3 separate regions of the Homo sapiens genome follow, and all the other regions are linked to region 2. Evidence: promoter capture Hi-C in 16 types of primary human blood cells and fetal thymus (Javierre and others, 2016). All regions are on one chromosome and are shown on one strand. Each heading gives the region's core, a stretch centred on a gene start or on the middle of the fragment in contact. The rest is flanking DNA. Distances are from core to core; before and after follow the strand shown.

The links. The method cuts DNA at HindIII sites, captures the fragments that hold promoters and counts their contacts. A CHiCAGO score of 5 or more calls a contact.
Region 1: a fragment that was not itself captured here is called in contact with the fragment with the promoter of GAD1 in region 2 in 4 of 17 cell types (naive CD4 T cells, total CD4 T cells, non-activated CD4 T cells and 1 more); the score reaches 6.7 in naive CD4 T cells.
Region 3: a fragment that was not itself captured here is called in contact with the fragment with the promoter of GAD1 in region 2 in 1 of 17 cell types (total CD8 T cells); the score reaches 5.4 in total CD8 T cells.

The regions. Positions count from the first base shown.
Region 1 is chr2:170,520,874-170,523,573 of GRCh38, reverse strand. All of the region lies in intron 30 of MYO3B (myosin IIIB), which reads right to left. Among named protein-coding and RNA genes, the nearest start is that of MYO3B-AS1, 170 kb to the right of the region's middle. The HindIII fragment of the contact is 9,195 bases long and covers 1-2,700 here.
Region 2 is chr2:170,815,590-170,818,289 of GRCh38, reverse strand. GAD1 (glutamate decarboxylase 1) reads right to left here and starts at 1,403. Exons shown (of 17, transcript NM_000817.3): 1 at 1,242-1,403. It overlaps GAD1-AS1 (GAD1 antisense RNA 1), which reads left to right. Exons shown (of 4, transcript NR_197761.1): 2 at 375-572; 3 at 1,258-1,436; 4 at 1,805-2,700. RefSeq lists enhancers at 1-12, 1,252-1,421 and a silencer at 1,509-1,588. The HindIII fragment of the contact is 11,655 bases long and covers 1-2,700 here.
Region 3 is chr2:170,540,644-170,543,343 of GRCh38, reverse strand. MYO3B (myosin IIIB) reads right to left here. Exons shown (of 35, transcript NM_138995.5): 31 at 378-438. Among named protein-coding and RNA genes, the nearest start is that of LINC01124, 170 kb to the left of the region's middle. The HindIII fragment of the contact is 819 bases long and covers 978-1,796 here.

The sequences.
Region 1 (2,700 bases), core at 172-2,671, 290 kb after region 2:
AGGGATCCTTGAATCTATGGGTTGAATGTTTGTTACTTCCAATGAGAACATCACCAGTGACACAATCCAGCTCTCTTCTTACTCTGCCCACCCCAAACCCCTCCCTACTCCCACCCCACCCTCTGCCCAAAAACTCCTTCCTATCAGCCCTTGTTGATTCACAGAACACTGAGTTGACAAACATAAGGGGGACAACAGAATCCCAGTCCCTGGATCAGGGATACCCTGGCCCACTGTTTGGTAAGTTATTCGGGATCCTCTTATTGTTGCCACTACCCAAAGACTGACAAGAAAAACACTTCCCTCATAAAAATCTGAGTGCTGAGAAGTGGCTTTGAAAGTTAGCTCAATAAACTTATTGAGTAGCTATTGTGTATATCGGATACAAGAAAGAGTAAGACTCAGTCCTCACTGTTGAGAAGCTAACTTGCTAGCACAAGGTCAACCATAACACCAGGCAAAATATGAAGAGCACCAGAGAGATTGAAACACCAAAGTGTGGTGTGAGGACCCAGTCTGTGAACTGTTACTACTCACAATGACATAAGGGGCTAGTGCCAGAATGTAAATCAATTCATCACCAAGTACATTGTTTAGTTCAGCTGATTTTTTTTAGTAACAAGAGTTTCTTAATGAAGAAAGCAGTGAGTTGATTTACATTTGGGCACAAATTCATTATCCTGTTGTGAAAAAGCACTTTGAGTAGTACTGTTACAAAAGGGCTACAGCTCAAGGAGTATTAAAAAGAATTAGGTCTTCATGGAGGAAAGGGATATGATAATGTGTCTTGACCAAAAGGTAAGAGCTGAACAGAAAGGAATGGGCAGAGAGAAGAGAGGAAGGTGCACCGGTAGAACAATAAGAAGTCTGATTCTGGTTAGCCATAAGGTGTATTAGGGACAAGGTGGAGGTGAGCCTGGAGGACAAACTGAAGTGAGCTAGAGAGAGGCGTGGAACAGCAGCCTGAGAAGTCGGAACCTTTTTTGGTCTAAAATAGGAAGCCATTAAAGTTCTTTGAACAAGTCAGAATATGTTGTAAGACAATTGATCAGGTGTGAGAAATGAAAGCTGGACTGTAAAGACAGAAGGAGAAAGAAAAAGAGATAATGGCAGTCCTGGACCAGGAAAGAGTATTTGGAAAATGACTGGAAGTGAGATTAAGTGAGAGGTAGGGGTCAAGAGTGACTGTGCCAGGTTTGAAGGCCAGGTCACAAGACAGTGTTTATGTCAATCATAGAAGTGGGAAGGGTGAGTGGAGGAGGTGCTTTAGGAGGGGCTTTTCTGTTGAAGTCTTGGTGTGTGAATCAGGAATATATGTCCACTGTGAGTTGGGTGTAGGAGTGTGGAGCTCAGAACAGAGACTTGCGACTCGTGCTCACCTAGCAGAGACTTGATACCAGAACACACTGGTGAGAGATGGTATCATCCAGGGTGAGAAGGAGAGAAAGGAGAGAATCTAAGACTTGGAGAATTGCCTTTATTTTAATGGTAAGCGGAAGAGAAGAAGAATGGAACCAGAGAAAACAAAGACTGAGAATACCTCTGAGCAAGCACCTGAAGAAGGCAATACTACAGATACCCTTGGAAGAGGGCTCTTCAAGGAAAGCACGCATGGCCCATGGAACTAAATGCTGCAGAGTCTGATGAACATAAAGCTCTAGCAACTGGGAGCTGTGCTTCCCAAGAATAGTTTTAGGGACATTGTAGGGACACAAATCAGATTTCAGGATTAGGGAGAAAGGGGTTGGTTTAGTGAGGAAATGAGGCAGTGGACCTGGACAGCAGTTGGAGGAAGTCTGGTGGTAAAAGCAAAAAGAAGGAAGGACAGGCCAAGGGCAGGCTTTTTTTTAGTATGGGGGGAGGTATAAGCAAAATGGAAAGTGATAGCAGAGTGTAAAAGATGGGAAAGCAGGGGAGGTGCTACCTGATAGTGGTAGGGCCTGGATGGCAGGAACACTGCACAAGGCAGAGGATCTGGGGTCTGTGAGATGGGAGCAAAGGAAGGAAGGACAGCCGAAGATAAGGAGAGATTCTAAGGTGAAGAGAAGGGCGGTGGAAGAGCTCAGAGCACTGTCCTGGTGTTCTCAGTAAAGTCAGACCTCAGTTGAGATTGAGGAAGTCAGACTGGGGCTGAAGTTGTTTTCCAAACTGGTTCACTGACTTGCCCAAGGTCAAACAGTTGGAAAATGTTAGCTGGGATCAGAAACCAAGTCTTCCAACCAAGCTCAGTGATCTTTCTACCACATTAGAAATTGTAAACTTTGTTATTCTAATATGAGATATTAGGTCTTTTCCTAAAGTGCCCTTAAATGAGCTATTCTGACTTTTTAAGCAAGTAGTCTAAAGTACTTTACTTTAAAAGAAGCCCAATGACAATTTGAGACCACTGGGGGAGTATTAAGAATTTAATTTATCAAGTCTCAAAAATCTTAAGCGATCTCACAAAATAAAATAATAAAAAATAATTAAAATTTTGTTTAAAATTGTAAATTAAGACTTTCTCTTTTCCAGGTGAAAAGATGCAAAGAACTCTCTAATGACCTGCTTCTTTCTTGAAATCTTTGACTAAAACTTTTAAGGAAGTTCCCCATAATCAATGTGGAAGAAAATAAGAAAGGTGAGTTTCATTCTATTAGGCCTTCCCTTTGCCATGGTCCACTCCTTCCTGTAGCTGTGTCCTCCTCCTGGTGACATACATGA
Region 2 (2,700 bases), core at 154-2,653:
GGCGGTGCATCGGCGCGACCTGGAGTGAAGCGCCGAGACGAGGCGGGGTCGGGGTCGGGGTGGGGGTCCAAGGCCAGTACAAGACGCAAGGGTGTGGGGGACTAGGCTAGGAGCACAGGGGAGCGCTCAGTGAGCGATTTTCCAGCCGAGCCGCTACAAGCCCCATTGGGCACTCAGCAGCCGGCGTGTGGGCCAGCGGGGGGAGGGCGCACGGGGCGGGCATGTCTGGTTCGGTGTCTGGTTCCCGTTGTTGTGTCTGGCTAATTCCCTGGAAAGAAAGAGGCTAACTGCTCCGGGGACTAGGGACTTTGGTGAGACAAGGTGAGAGGGGGAAAAAGGCCCATATCTTTACGTTCTCCCTCGGACTTGGCCAGAGAAGAACCACAGTCACCTTGCACTCCAGACAGCCAGAAAGCAGCGAGTCGGAATGTTGCTTGCCTCCCTCTTATCCCAGCCGGTTTTTAGCCATCGCTAAGCCTAGGGCGAGGTTTCGGTCCGGTTTCAGCGTTTCTCCTCTACCTAGCCCCCTGAGGACCCCAGATTTCTCGCGGTACAGATCCAGAGAGGGTGGGGTAAGTAAGCATGGGGAACGTCACCGGGGAAACGAACTTGCGCGCAGCGCGCAGGAGGCGGCGGACAAAGATCTTGCGCGGCGCCCCTGCTCGACTCTCGGCGCTGGCGCGATGGCGCCCGAAGGCCCCGGGACAGAGAGATTGCGGGCTAATCTGGGTAGATCGAGGACCCCACAGAGAAGGGCCCACCGGCCATCGCCTCCACACCCTCCCTCCGACCTCACTCCTAGCCCCGCGCGCGCAGTCGCACAGCAACTCGGGCAGCGGGTCGACTACGGCCCCTGGAAAAGTAACAGGTTACCGTTCCTAGTAGCGCCTTCGGCTGCTGCTGCCCAGGCGCCCTTTGGAGGGACAGGCGCTCGCAGCATGGAAGCTCAAGGGAAAATCGCTCTTGCCCCACTTCAACTAGAGCCTCAGCCTCCGTGCTTCCCCGGGGCGTGAATCCGGAGGGCAGGGATAAGAAGAGTGACGAGGGAGGCGGGGGGGGGGGGGTCCCTGCGCAGCGCACCCGTGGAGAGCAGGGACTAGGGCGGGCAGGAAGCACTCATTTCGGGAGGTTGGGTGGCCGGCGCTGGGATGGGGTTGGTTGAGAAGCCGCGGGAGGAGAGGACCTGGCTGAAAAGCCACGGTTGGGCGCTGGGAAGTCCAGGTGGTCGCTAGCTTACCCACCTCGGCTCTGCGACAGCGAGCCGGGCACTCCCGCCTTTCCTCTGCACAGCGCCCAGCGATCCGCTCGGCTCGGCCCTGACAGGCGTAATCTGCCCGGCGTCACCTCCAGCTGCTTCCTCGTTCTCGCTAGTTCCCTCTCGCACGCGAGCGCCAGGAGAAGAGAGAGATTCGGAGAGGCGGCTGCACGGCTCCGGGGTAGGCGGGGGCAGAGTGGGGAGGCGGGGACCGGATCGGCGGGGAAATCACGAGGCCGTTGCTCGCGGGGGCAGCTAGTCGGCGGAGCGGCGGGGCTCCTCTGCAGGTGCCTGACCGCCTCTGGAGCTTTATAGGGCGATTATAAATCCAGCTCACGGTTTTGCGCCCGGAAGGAAAAAAAAAAGGTCTTATGAGTAATCCAGAACGTACTCAACACGCTTTTTTTTTTTCCTTTGGAAATAGGCAGGCTGTCGGGTGAGAGGAGGGAAAAGATAATTCCTACGAAGAATTCTGCCTTTCTGAGCGTTTCTTCTTCCCTCCCCTCCTTTCCCCTCTCCCATTTCCCCTCCCCCTCCCATATATTGTAGGAGACGAGCGGCGGTTTTGCCTCAGTGCTTTTCCCCGGGGTTCCCCCAGATCTGTGACCCTGCGACGCTTCCTTGAGCGAAAGCGCGCTTTGGGTCGTGTCCTCGTTGGCTCTCTACGGAGCTGGGATTGTTGTAACCGCAAAGGAGGCAGAAATGAGGGGAGACCTCTTAGACCATGGAGGAATTACAGTTTCCTCATCCAGCCCTGGGCCCCATCAAAGTACCACACCTGGCCACAGCTACCCAGTGCCACCGGCAGAGAAAAGGACCCCGCGTCCCTTTTGCTATGCGCTCGCTCCTCGCTTTGGCCCCCTTGGTGATGGGAAAAGAAGGCCTCCTGATTAATCACGTTTGAAGGTTGATGACACGCACGAGCGCCGCTGCACGCGCATGGGGCACCCGAGCACAGAGGTGCCCGGAAGGGGCGGACCAGCCCCCCTTGCCCTGGCCCGCTCCCCCTTCGATTTCACGCGCTTTAAGGATTCTCCCTTTGCAATATTTAGGCGTAGTTAAAAGAACCGCTGCGTTGGGAGAAGCCCCTCGCCGTAAAAATGCGTTGAAAGAGAAATTCCCACCAGAGGGCGCCAAGAGCCCAGAGACGGAGAGGCCCTGCGCTCCCGGGTCTCTCCGCCAGCGCCCGAGCGGAGCCCACACCTGGAGCTGCTGGCCAGACGGTTACGCGCCGGCTTGCCTCTTCATGCCTTCCCTCACCGCCCTGTCACTAGTTTAAGTTCTCCCCTTTCTTCTCCCCCAGTTTTTTTCTTTAGGGCAAAAATGTTGATGTCTGTGCGTGTCTGGGTGACACCGTGTAGGCAGTGATTCCTTTACTGGTATTTACCGTGGTCCTCCCCCTCTCCCCAGGTGGTGCAGCACGCAGGGGTTATTTATGCGCACGT
Region 3 (2,700 bases), core at 138-2,637, 270 kb after region 2:
GCCTCCATTTCACATATTGAATTCGAGCAGGATATCAAAGTGCTACCAAAGAACCTCGGGTCCTTACTCAAAAAGAGGCTCTAACATCTGTAGAGAGTGGAGTGCACAGACAAATCACCTCAGGGAGCAGCTAACATTTATTCTCAGCAGCAAATTTCCAGGCTTTTGATTCTCTCTCCCCTGTACCTCCCTGTCTCTCTACTGAACCAAAGTTCTTCAGCAAGCTGGGCTTTTGTCTCAAAGACTTCAAAATATCACTAACAGTTTCAAGTTTGGATGGTCCAACCACGCAGCCGCAGACAAGCTTCATGCCTATGAACTTGGATGAGTCTGAAGGAGTGATACACATTTACTTTGGAATCAAGATATCCAGCTACCTTGTTTGCATGTCCTGCGAAGATATCGCACCCTTTTGGAGAACTCTGGGCTTGTGAATGCCTGAAAAGATAACAATAATAATAATTTTAAAAGACTTGAAAATAATAATAGAAAAACTTAGAGAGGACTGTTTTTCTTCAAAGATATATCAAAACATACTTTTTATGCTTCCATGGTTTCCCATTTCAGTCCTTGGTTAAAAGGACATGGTCACCTTAAGAAAATGAGTCCTACTAGGTGTTGCTCCTACATGTTACAGCACATCCACAGTCTGCCTGAATTCCTAAGACCCAAGAAACTGCTCCTTTTAAAGTTGTGTGATTGGCTTTGGTTTAGCGAGCTCTATTGGGCTTCCACAACCTTTACCAAGAAGCCAACTAAATGGATGCTAAGGCTACACTTCCTGCACAGCACATGAATCACATTCACAGTTACAGAACTTAAAATGGATTCCGTAATCAAGTAAGTTTGGGGAATGTTAGGTTGGGCGTAGTTTGAAAGGTTTCCTTACTGCAGGAATAATCTTTTAAAATTACAATATACATTTATGGATCTCTATAGTAAAGATAAAGTTCCAACAGTAATTTGACCAAGAAGCTTAAAGTGATAACCTATTAACATCTAATAAAATCCTAATGCTTCATGGAACAAAGTTTGGAAAAATCAATTGGTCTGGGTCCCCAATTTTTGATAATCAGAACACATTGTATAAGAGTGTACTTATAACACACAGATAAAATAGGAGCCACTCATAATGCCTTTCAGATGGAACCAGCAGAGTGGAAAGCACTGAGTAAAGAAGGGAAATCTGTGTTCTGACCCCTGCCTCACACACACGCACACATGTGACACACATGACACAACAAACATGTGACTTTGGGTAAGTTTCTGTAGTATTCGGGGTCCTAGTTTTCCTCATCTATAAAATGAGGAGATTGAGATAAATTATTCCTAAGGTCTCTTCCAGTTCTATATTAATAATCTTATTCTTTACTTAAGCTGACAAATTCATTTCCGTATATTTATTTGTGGATATTACCTTCAAAATATATATTATAAGCAATATGCCCATTTAAAAATTACCACATCAGTACCTGGAAGGAGGGGACTATAATTCTATATTTATTTGTGTGTATATTTGCTTATCATATGTCTCCCACAATGGAATGTAAGCTACATTAAGTCAGGGACTGGATCTGCTCTATTTCACGCTCTGTGTAAGCACCTACCCAGTGCCTGGTACATAGAAAATGCTCAGTAAATATTGACCATTTGAATAAATAAAACAATGATTAGTCAATCCACAAAATGCGGGGCCATGTAGATCAGTAAGAATACTCTTACTATTAAAATTAAATTAACTATCATTTATATACTACTTCATTTAAAAAAAATGCTTTTAAATATTTAAGAAAGCTTCACAACCATTTGGTCTAAGTACTTTAATTGTATCTATCATACAGATAAACAAAGAGGTTCAGAGAGGTTAAGAGATTTTCCCAGGTATCATGGTAAATACCTGGTAGAGCTAAGGCATTCACCCGTGTTTGTCTGACTCCAAATCCTCTGCTCTTCCTCTGAACCATAATATATTCTATACCCTTCAGTATCTAAGCATTGGCCCAAAGGACTCACTCCTGTCTGGCCTAGGCAAGTCCCAGTAGCTGTGACACACCTATAGGATGGGTGGATTCTAAGATCCTCTAGGAGAAAGTCTAAGAAAGAGAGTTTAGCTGTTGAATTACTGCCAGACCCCTAATTTATGCCTTTCCTGACCCCTCAAAAAATGAACCTCTTGACAACTCCTCTAGCTTGTGTGGCTTTTCAGAATCCAAAGCCAATGGCAGACACCTCCCAACTCTCCACAGGGAGTCAGCTTATCTGTTTGATTCCCTCTTCATTCAAGCCTTTGGAAGAATCGAAGGCAGCTCAATGTAATGTTTGTGTGTGTTTAAGAAAAGTCAGCGGCAGAGGTCAGGGAGTAGTGTCTACAGGCAAATAAATTAGAAAATACTAGATTAGCCTACAAGCCAGGTTTCTTTCCCGAGAGGCTTTCCGGCAACTTTAATTTAATAATATGTTCAATGAGACTCCAAGAAAGGAAAAGAATTGGAAACATCTTCTAGACATTATTTTAACAATGGACCCTTCTCCTCTGTACCATGTTGAGGCACTACTGATTCTTAGAACACACCTTGCTTTTAAGAAGATGGTACAAGTCAGTTTTCTTAAAAAATCTAACTTCCTCAACTCCTTTATAGAGTTGTTGTTGTTGTTGTTGCTGTTTTTTTGTTTTTTTTGTTGTTTTTTGTTTTTGCCTTA